3 separate regions of the Homo sapiens genome follow, and all the other regions are linked to region 1. Evidence: promoter capture Hi-C in human tissues and cell types (Jung and others, 2019). All regions are on one chromosome and are shown on one strand. The core of a region is centred on a gene start or on the middle of the fragment in contact, and the rest is flanking DNA. Distances in the headings are between cores, read along the strand shown. Region 1 holds the start of RXFP3 (relaxin family peptide receptor 3). Region 2 overlaps ADAMTS12 (ADAM metallopeptidase with thrombospondin type 1 motif 12). Region 3 overlaps ADAMTS12 (ADAM metallopeptidase with thrombospondin type 1 motif 12).

Evidence for each region. Contacts are between HindIII fragments. The study calls those that stand out against the background at their distance.
Region 2: a contact is called between a fragment that was not itself captured here and the fragment with the promoter of RXFP3 in region 1, in 2 of the 25 tissues and cell types used here (IMR-90 fibroblasts and aorta).
Region 3: a fragment that was not itself captured here is called in contact with the fragment with the promoter of RXFP3 in region 1 in 1 of the 25 tissues and cell types used here (mesenchymal stem cells).

What each region holds. Positions count from the first base shown.
Region 1 is chr5:33,934,777-33,938,324 of GRCh38, reverse strand. RXFP3 (relaxin family peptide receptor 3) reads right to left here and starts at 1,939. Exons shown (of 1, transcript NM_016568.3): 1 at 1-1,939. The coding sequence starts at 1,584. The coding sequence ends at 175. The HindIII fragment of the contact is 8,299 bases long and covers 1-3,548 here.
Region 2 is chr5:33,726,855-33,730,402 of GRCh38, reverse strand. All of the region lies in intron 3 of ADAMTS12 (ADAM metallopeptidase with thrombospondin type 1 motif 12), which reads left to right. Among named protein-coding and RNA genes, the nearest start is that of ADAMTS12, 160 kb to the left of the region's middle. The HindIII fragment of the contact is 3,802 bases long and covers 40-3,548 here.
Region 3 is chr5:33,789,105-33,792,652 of GRCh38, reverse strand. The region is part of intron 2 of ADAMTS12 (ADAM metallopeptidase with thrombospondin type 1 motif 12); the gene reads left to right. Among named protein-coding and RNA genes, the nearest start is that of ADAMTS12, 100 kb to the left of the region's middle. RefSeq lists an enhancer at 3,239-3,548. The HindIII fragment of the contact is 7,532 bases long and covers 1-3,548 here.

The sequences.
Region 1 (3,548 bases), core at 690-3,189:
TCTCCAGAGAAGGTCCTCGGCCTATCCACAGGCTCCTCCTCCATGCTCTGCCCATCCTCCTCCCACCTACTTCTTAAATGGGGCCCCCCCCAGCCCTCCTTCATCCTTTCACCTCTTTACCGCCCGGGGAAGGCCACCTTGCCCCGACGGCGCGCCCTGGGCCTGAGGCCTGCGTCAGTAGGCAGAGCTGCTGGGCAGCAGGTCGTAGCGCCCCCCGCTGTAGACCACGACGCCAGGTGGGTAGTAGAGCAGGTCCGGCTCCGCGGCCGCGTGGGGCGGCGCCGGGGCCTGCAGCCCCTGATCCTCGTGCTCCGGCTTGGTAGTGGCGGTGAAGGGGCGCATGCTGGTGATCGAAGGAGACGCGATGCGCCACAGCAGGCTCTTGAGCGCCTTGCGGAACTCGCGGCGCACGAGGCAGTAGAGGACGGGGTTGAGGCAGCTGTTGGAGTGCGCTAGGCACACGCTCACAGGGAACGCGTATACCTGGCACAGGAAATACTCCTGGCTGAAGGGCACCGCGTTGAACTTGATGAGGATGCTCCAGGTGGTGAGCGCCTGGTTGGGCAGCCAACACAGGAAGAAGGACAGGACAACGATGGTCACTGATTTGGTGACCTTCGACAGTCTCCGGGCGCTGGCTCCGGTCGGGCGTCCTCCGGCTACCGCGGCCCCTCCTTTGGTCCCCGCCGCGCGGCGGTCGGCGATGAAGCGCACCAGCAGCAGGTAGCACAAGATAATGATGCCCAGCGGCAGCACGAAGCCCAGCAGCACCTTCTGCGAGTGGTAGAGGCCCAGCCAGAACTGCCTGTCGCGGCCCAGCAACTTGTCCGGGAAACGCACCAGGCACAGCTCCTCGCCCATCACCTTGACCGTGGTGGAGAAAATGGCACTGGGCAGCGAGGCCAGCGCGGCCAAAGCCCAGATCCACACACACAGCGCCTTGGCCGAGAAGCAGCAGCTGTCCCCCAGGCTCCGGCCGCAGCAGTCGCCCCGGCCGTGTCCTCGGGTCCGGTGGCTCTTCAGAGCCGAGGCCACCGAATGGTAGCGCGTCACACTCATGGCAGTGAGGAAGAACACGCTGGCGTACATGTTCATGGACGTCACCATGGACACGATCTTACACATGGCCTTGCCGAAGGGCCATTTGAAGTCAAGAGCGTTCTCCACCGCCCAGAAGGGCAGGGTGAGCACAAACTGAAAGTCCGTCAGCGCCAGGTTGGTGACGAAGAGGTTGATAGAGGACTTGCGCCAGCCCTGCATGCTCTTCATCAGGTAGAGAACCAGCAGGTTGCCCGCCAACCCCAGGGCGCACACCACCCAGTACACCACGCTGATGAGAATCCGCACCCGGGCCTCTGTGTCCGCGCTCTCTGCCCCGCCGCTGCCCGGGGGATGTCCTGGCGGCGCGCCGTCCGGCAACTCCAGCCCCAGCTCCCACCACAAGTCCGGAAGCTGCAGCGACGCGTTACCACTCGTGTTGGCCGCCTCCAGAAGGTCCGGGACCAGACTGAAGAGTTCTGCTAGCTTGTCCCCGCCTGCTGCCTTATTCATGGTGGCTATCGTGGCTGCATCGGCCATCTGCATGCGCAGGTACCTCTAGGTCATGTTCTGGGGGACAAGACCTAAGATAACACGGTTTACCCCAGTTTTGTTGCCAGGCTAGCCTGCGGGACGTGCGTGGGAGCTTTCAAAGCAGCTACTGAAGAGAGAGCCCAGGAACTGGGTACTAAGCGCGTCCTGGCGCGCAGCGAACGCCCTGGACGCAGGAGTTGAGCTCAGCGGCTGCTTTGGAGCAGAGTTGAGGAGTGCAGCCCGTAAGGCAAGCACTCGGCGTCCAAGGGTTCTCAGGCCAAGCTCGGAGTCCCTAGGTCCTTATGTACAACGCAGACTTCCCCTCTCCGTGTCCCGCGGTCACTGGGGCACTGGCGCATAACTCCCCCAGCCGCTCAATTGTGCGATTTGGGGCCGCTCGCTCCCTTTCAAATACCTTTATCCGTTTCCTCTGGGACTGCTTGGATGAGGTTTCCGTCCTTGGAGAGAAAGAGATCGTAGAGTTCCATCCACCACGCTCAGCTTCCTGGAGGTCAGTGGGTGTCTGCGTCTCTCCGCGGTTGTCAACTCCGGGTGGGTTGCCAGCGGCTCTCACCAGTTACGGTGGCACTTGCACGGCCAAGGCGGCGGGCCCCAAGGAGCATGCGTAATCCCGGGGCGCCGCGAGGGGCGCTTTCCGAGGTGCTGAACCCAGCCGCGCCCGCGCCGCGAGGGAGAGTTGAGCTGCAGGCAAAGCCCACCCGCCACTCCAGTTTTCCTCTCCAGAGTTTCAGCAGGAAGGGTCTTAAGAGTTTATTTTACAGCTGCAGGAGAAAGTCGGCTTTGACGTGAGTTTCTTCTTCCTTTCTTATTCCCAAACATTATGATTAGAAGTTTTTTTTTTCTTTCTTCCTCACTCCCACTTTTCACCGGAATTATTCCATTTGGTGAGGAATTGTTCTAAAAATATGAGCTATCCTGCTTACTTTCCTTCTTGAAAGTAATAACAGTGGCCTCTTTTCATGCTCAAATGAGATAATGGGTACTTATTGGATACACAAAGGACAGCTCCACCTCCCCTCTTTAATTAGCTGACCACTTACGCAGTACCTGTGTTTGTCAGGATTTTCAAAGGGTCTTCACATGGCAGAAGTCTGGGCTCAAGGGTTGCCCCTACTTTAATGTATTCTGAGAGGTGACACAAAAACAGAGCAAACAACTGATGGTCCTACTTCACAGAAATTAAATGCCCTAAGCCCAAAGCGCTTCAACAAATTGTTTGATCACATACAGGCCACAGTCTCTTTACCTAGATGCAAATAGAATAGAGGATACCACTGGGCTGATCGTGAACCACCAGCCCTCCTATTTCCATTACTGTTAGCATCAGGACTCTTTTTCAGGCGTTTTTCAGACCAATGGAAGTACATTCTAAGGACTCTTCCAAGGGAATGAGTGGAAACCACTTGAATTACTTCTCAAGCTTCAGTCTACATAAATGCCAGGTCAATCGCTCTGGTGTAAATTACACTTTTAGGATTTACTTTAAAATTTTGAAATGTTTTCCTCTTGGTCTGGGACTAAACTGAAACCAAAGTTTCTTAAGCATAATTGTCCTCACTCCTGGAGTACTACAGAACTCCCAGCTTTACTTAAGGAGATAAAGAGGATGCAACCTTCAAGCTGAGGAGATAAGAAACAGAAAAAGAAAGAAAGAGAAAAACGAAAAAGAAAGAAAGAAAGAAAGAAAGAAAGAAAGAAAGAAAGAAAGAAAAGAAAAGAAAGAGAAAAAGGAAAAAAGAAAAAAAAAGAAACAAGAAACAATCTTGATTCCAAAGGACTTTTAGCCCTGAAGAGCACACACCTTGCTACGGATGCTGCACAGCTCCGTCTTCCCACTAGAGGGAGTAAGGGCTTTAGTAAAAACCTAGCCAAACACAAACATCTCCTTTGATCAGTTCTTACCTGGAGATCACCCCTGCCCTGAGGATTCCTCCCAAAGCACAGGTTATTTCTAT
Region 2 (3,548 bases), core at 691-3,190, 210 kb after region 1:
CCTCCAGTCTTCCCCCCACCCATCCTCTTCCAAAAAAGGATCAATCTTACCACACACATACACACAGAAACACACACACAGACACACACACACACACACACACACACACACACCCTAATGGACTCTGATCTCATAATAGCACCAGCACCTTATACAATAGTGATACTTATACAATGCCACACATATGCTGTTTTTGCAACTATTGGCATAAACTGTGTCTAATCCCATATCACACAGAAAGATTCAGATTTCATATTTGATCTGTAACCTGTACAATGTGGGTCTCCTTTCTACCCGTGGGTGGGTAGTGAAGGACTTCGTCAAGAGCCTCAGGGTGGAAGAAAGAAGCCTTCTAATGTATAACTTTTGCCTTGGAGCTCCAGAATGGAACTTTTGGAGCTCCAGAATGGAACTTTTGCCCATAGACAGACTCTTAATCATTACTATATTTGGAAAATGTTGGGTGGTTTAGTAAGTAATATTTGGAAAGCCACATGCTGTGTATCAGTGATTCATAATCCACACACAAATTGATTTCCAACCCTCTTGCTCTAAAGCCTGAAATTGGGTGTTATCAATCTCAGCCACTGCCAGTGTCTCTTCCTTTATTTAGAGAGAAACTTTGGGACACTCTGCCACTTGCCAACCAGTAGGATCTGCCTGACCTGCCAGTCTCCAGCATCCCAGAGGCATCGGGTGATGCCTCTGACTTTTCAGAACCCTTCAGAGTACCATCCCACCGGGGCTCACATCTACCCTCTGAAGTCAGCAGTCTGGAAATTATTTTCTTACTAAACTCTTTCTAAGTATGTAAATTATGTGTTGTTAAAGCAAATTAAAATGGAGGCCACAAAAACTCCCTGAGCAGACAAAGCCAGTTAGGTCTTGAAAATAACCTTAACTTTGCTTACATTGGAAATGGGAAGGAGACTTAATTTGGGCTATTTCTTGTGAATGCTTGTATTAGAGTGAAACAATTTAAGCTCAACCAATAAGATGCAGCCAACTAACTTGTAATCATGCAACTAGGGACTTTCCAGTGAGGTAGATCAAATATGGCAACTTTATACCTGTAACCAATCAAATATTTTCTTTGCATGACTTCCACATTCACTCTATAAAAGCTTATCCTTTATGTTTCTCCAATGGAACCCCTGAAGCACTTCTGGCTTGGGGCTGCTTGATTCATGAATTGCTATTCACTCAAATAAACTCTAAAATGTTATTGTGTCCCAGTTTACCTTTTTAATAGTTTGTATAATATAACATTTGGAAGGTTCATACATGTATAAAGAATATAAAATATCAGTATGCTGTCATCATCATACCAAGCTAATATTGTTAATATTTCATATTTGATGCTCATCGGTTTTCCTACACATATGTGCAAACATGTATACATATCATGTACATATACACATATATGTATGTGCATTTATATACACATATATGCATATGATATATCATGTACATATACACATATGCATGTGCATTTATATAAGCATATATGCATATGATACATGCTACTTTGTAATGAAATATACTTTATAAATGAGATTAGTACAACTGAGAGGTGAAATGATGAGTTCAACCATACCTGACATTACTGGTTAGTCGTTTGATTCTAGAAATCTTTTCTCTCCATGACTGTTCTGATGGCCTTCCCCTTTCCTACACACAGTCAGAGCTCTCTACAGGGGTAGCTGGCCTTCTTCAGGCTGGGGTGCTAAGGTGTTTTGTGGAAGAGGCTGGTGGTCGCCTGAGCCTGAGGCCAGAAGGAACACTGTCTTTCCCTCCCTGAGGAGAGGTGAGGCTTAAAGGGCAAATGGCCTTGGCAGAGAGGCCCAGGGCCAGGCTGATCCCAGTGACAGCCCATGACTAGAGGCCACACTGAGAGGATGGTGAGGGCCACCAGGAACAGGGCTTTGCGAGTCTGAAGGAGGCAAGTGGCAGAGTTAAGAGGCTGATTCGGACAGGAGGGGAGTCACACCTGCCACCAAGGTCTCATCCCACAGCCAACAGTGTCCTGGAAGGAAGCCAACTCCTCCAGGTTTTGCTCAGAGCATCCCTTTCGTGTCCAATGCTCTGACACTGTTCTTCCCCTCCCCCTTTCCACTTCTCTCGTAGGCTGTGGATTTTCAGCTGAAATGTCTCATTTCAGTGAACATCCCGAGTGGGATAATGTCCTTCTGCCTCAGAGAATCCAGCAGCACAGAAAAAGACTGGGCCTCCTTCTAGGGGAAGAGGATGGTCTCAGGGCTGCTCTGGAAGGAAGATGAGGATGTCCAACAGTCATTTAACTGTTGCCTGTGCATTTCAGGGACACTCCAGGGTATGAGCCAATTTTTGTTTAATATATTTGTTCCTTTCCTTAGAAAATAAGAGGGGTTGCAATCTTCATGCTTTTGCTCAATCTGCAGGTATCTATTGAGGGCTTGCATTAAAGATGCTGAGCGTAGAGTGTGAATGTGACAGGTGCCATGCTCTCAGTAAGCCTACTGCCTCATGGGAACATTGGTAAAGAAACAGATAAATAATTACAAATAAGTAAACATAAACACAGGCAAACCGATAAATACCAGGAACGGAATTAGTGGGATGAAGCACCAGAGGGCAAAGGAGACGATAGGATGGTCTGTAGGACTTTTAGGCTGAAAATGGACAAATCAACCAGCGCTAATCGTTCAAAATCTAAGAAAGAGTGTGTTCCAGGGAACAGGATGCATACAAGCCTCAAGCATAAACAGCTTGGCTTCTTTGAGGAATTAAACGAAGGCCAGTGTGACAATAAAGAGAATAAGCTTGGAAAGAGAGCCAAAAGCACCTTTGAATTAAACTGAGTTAATATTCATGTGTTTACAACAGTTGAAGCCCTTGGAAAGTCTGGAAAACAGAAAATGCCCATGAAAGGGATACCTCAGGACAGTCTGTAAAGCTAATGCTTCATTTGCTTTGGGTTTGCTCTAACTTCAAAGCAGAGTTGCTCACAGAAAACAGCTATGTTAACTTCCTCCTATCGGAGAGGCAGCTGCAAAGCGATGAAATGCCTCCATGGAGGAGAAGAAACAAGGAGGCGAGAGCCCAATGGACCCTCTCTTGAATAACTGAGAATTCACTCAGAAATGCGAGGACACACACGCGTCGTCACCCAGGCCAGATCTCGGTGGTGAGGCTTGACCTCGACCCAGACACACAGGTCCAGCGGCAGCCACAGTTCATTGTGCTTGGGCCAACCCTGCCTTGCTTTTGCGCTTGGTGATCCTGTCTCTGCAGTGTCCAGCAGCATAGGGCAGGTGGCAACTGCCTTGCGCCTCCAGGAGAGGTGAGAGGAGAGAGAGAGGAAGCTTTGTGAGAGCCTGCTGGAGGCGGTGAGCTGACTCGACTAGAGATTTGATTCACCCAGGAGTTTCCTCTGGAGCTGGAAGGAGGCAAACTGCAGCTGGCTTAGATCCAAGCCCAGGAGATGCCTCATCTGCCCAGGCGGATTCCTGGATCTGGCCGTCCAAAAGGATGCATTCACATGGCTTCAGAGTGAGGGCACTTTATAA
Region 3 (3,548 bases), core at 770-3,269, 150 kb after region 1:
ATTGCTCCACACAGGGTCAGAGATAGCTGCAGTGGCAGGTGTTGAATCAACACATATCTGCTGAACATCACCTGTGCTTAACACTTGTGCCAGGCTCTTTGAGGGATAAAAAGTATAATAAGCCCACCAAATTCAATAATTGGATGTCAATTATGTAAACTGTAGAGATATTATCACGAGGTCAAGGAAAACCAGTACTTTTCAGACAGAATTTTAGTCCTATCTAATTTTCTCAAATGGGCACTGGATGAAGTAGGGGAGCCAGTTACGTGACATGCACATTCATGGTATCAAGCAATTGGCTCTATAGTACGGGGTCCCTTTGCTACCAATCTAGCGGACTTAAAAGTGAAAGCAGGCTGGGCATGGTGGCTTATGCCTGTGATCCCAGTACTTTGGGATGCCGAGGCAGGCAGATCACTTGAGGTCAGGAGTTCGAGACCAGCCTGGCTAACGTGTTGAAGTCCCATCTCTACTAAACAAACAAATTAGCTGGGTATGGTGGTGGGCGCCTGTAATCCCAGCTACTCTGGAGCCTGGGGCAGGAGAATTGCTTGAGCCTGGGAGGCAGAGGTTGCAGTGAGCCGAGATCGTGCCACTGCATTCCAGCCTGGATGAAAGAGTGAGACTCCATCTCAAAAAAAAAAAAAAAAAAAAGTGTGAAAGCACGTTTAAGCTAAGACTAGGTATAAATGTAAAGATGTCACAGATAATTACCACCAGGACCTATGGACAAAGAGACATCACTAGGGTCAATGCAGCCTAACAGTCTTCAAGGAGTATAGGATCTGAGTTAGGCTTGGAGGATGGGTATTAGTAAAGCTTCCTTTATATCAAATGACAGATACCAACTTCGCTATCCTAAGGCCAAAAAAAAAAAAAGAAAAGGAAATAAAAAAGAGTGGAATTGATTGGGTGGTTTGGAAGGATATCTGGGGTATCTCAAGGAACCACAGACAGACTTAACAACTAAGACTCAGAAATTTCAGGGACCAAAGAAACAAGCATTCATGGACATTTTCTCTAGAGAATTTCCATTAAAGTGGCTTAGCTGCCTATTATATAGGTCACTGCATAGAAGTACAAATTTCTAATTCCCAGGTGATAAAAATCTGATTGGCTTGGATAAACACTTTTCCTAGTTCTTTTTTTATTTAGTAGTCCTTGTTTTTGTTAAAAAAAATTTTTAAGGCATCTAGGCACAGCAAGGATATATGTATAAGGGATTAATAAAATATATCTTACAGGAATTTAGAGCTGAAAGAGATTGAGACCAACTCCCTTATTTTACAGTTGGAGATTCAGAAAAGTTTAGGTGACTTGCCTAGCATTACAGAGCATATTAATATCAGGGTCAGGTTGAGAATCTCAAAATTCCCAGTACCTCATATTGCCCAGGATGTTTTCATTGGAGACTTTTATATTTTAAGCCTGAACATCCAACTCAATAACTACCAGACATCTAATTCTTGCTGAGAGTCAAGAGGTACTGGCCAGCCATGCTGCTGTGCATGTGAGTAGCTGTGACCTGGGTGGGGTAAGAAATCAGGTGTGGAGCTTAGCTCAGAGGCCTTGTCCTCCATCTCCTGGAGTGGTTTTAGATCTGGCTAGATTGCTTTCATCATGAGAGTGTGACCGCATGCTCTGTAGTGGAGGGACTGGGAATCACCATGCAACCCTCTGACCAATGTTAACATCACTAAATGTGCAAGAACCAGACATTAGGGGTTTCTCCTGTGGGATGCAACAGGAAGAACACAGCACCACCTATTCAGTATTCTTACATATACACATATACATGTAGCTGATGTCTGCACCTTAGCCATATATATATCAACATGCATATATATATATATATATATATATATATGTTTGTATGTCAAGCTAGAAGTTTGATTAGAGTCAAGTATATGTGTGTTTGTGTGTATACCTGAATCTCTATGTGCACACATGTGCGTGTGTGTACACACACACACACTTTAATAAAGCCTTTAGCTCTGTTGACCAATTTACAGGAGAAAAAGGTTAAAGGAGAAAGCAACAGACAAATCCATATGTGGGACATTCTTTTTTCTTTTTTCTTTTTTTTTTTTTTTTGAGATGGAGTCTTGCTCTGTCACCCAGGCTGGAGGAGTGCAGTGGCACGATCTCGGCTGTCTGCAACCTCCGCCTCCTGGGTTCAAGCGATTCTTCTGCCTCAGCCTTCCGAATAGCTGGGACTACAGGCATGCGCCACCATGCCCAGCTAATTTTTGTATTTTTAGTAGAGACGGGGTTTCACCACATTGGCCAGGATAGTCTTGATCTCTTGACCTTGTGTTCCATCCACCTTGGCCTCCCAAAGTGCTGGGATTACAGGCGTGAGCCACCGCGCCCGGCCAGATGTGGGACATTCTAAAGGACAATCAACTGGTTTCTGCAATTAGCCAATGGCAGGAAAAAAAGGGAGATGGAACTGCTCTAAAAGAAAACAGACTTAAGGATAAAACAACTAAATACTATGTGTGGACTCTGGCCGCACCTGATTCGAATGGATGAACTGTAAAGAGACTTTTTTTTTAAAGAGCACTACAAAATTTGATAATCTATTAGATAACACCCAGGAATTGTTCTATAACCTTGTTAGGTGTGATAATAATATTGTGGTTATGTTTGAAAAGGTCCGTAATTTTAAGGATTCATAGTGTAGTCTCGGGGTGAAATGACATGAGATAGCGGATTTGCTTTAAGATACTTTGGCAATCAACACTGTTGTATTCTTAGGCAAAGTAAATCCATGAGAGGCAGGCTTGAACTGTCCATTTAGAAAGAAGAGGCTGCAGACCACATGGCGCTTCCATGCCAAGAACGAACTTGAGAGCACTGTGGGGAAATGGACTTTCCCCTGTGTTTGTTCATTTGTCAGGGACACTAAGTAATTTCAAAATTAAAGAAAAGCCAGCCACAGCTCTGAAGTGCCAAGGACTGTCAAGAACGCTGTGTGTGTTTCTATCAAAGCACTGATGTTGCTAACACATTCATCATTTATTTTTAAACCTGCTGGGACTGCTGTTGAGGTACTCTACGCAGCCACTAGCCATTTTCCTCCTTGGGCAGGGTTATTAGCTTCTGCTTTCCTCCAGAGAGACCAATGAGGGAAGTGCAGAAACCTCCCTTGGCTTTTCTCTGACAGAATAAAGAAGAGACCCTGAGAGCGGTCTAGAGACCCTAAAAGCAGACTGTGTATTAAGCAGTGAGGCATGGACAATGGTGGCTGTTCCATCTCCAACCTCTCCTTGGAGATGGCTCACTCTCAGCCCTGGGGGAGGCCATGTGTGGGCAGCATCTGCTGCTGGAGTTTCATTGGCAGCTGTATTTGTGTCCCTATTTCATAGACATCCATGGTGGGACAGCAGCTGGTTCTCTGGGTCTTTGAGGCCTTGGGCCTGGGACACAGCAGCCGTCAGGCTCTCTCCTTGCTGAGTGTGTGTGAGAGACCTTTCTGTCCCCTAGGGAATTCACACAATGTCCACAGCCTATGAAACCTCCCGTGTTCTCATAGATCCCAA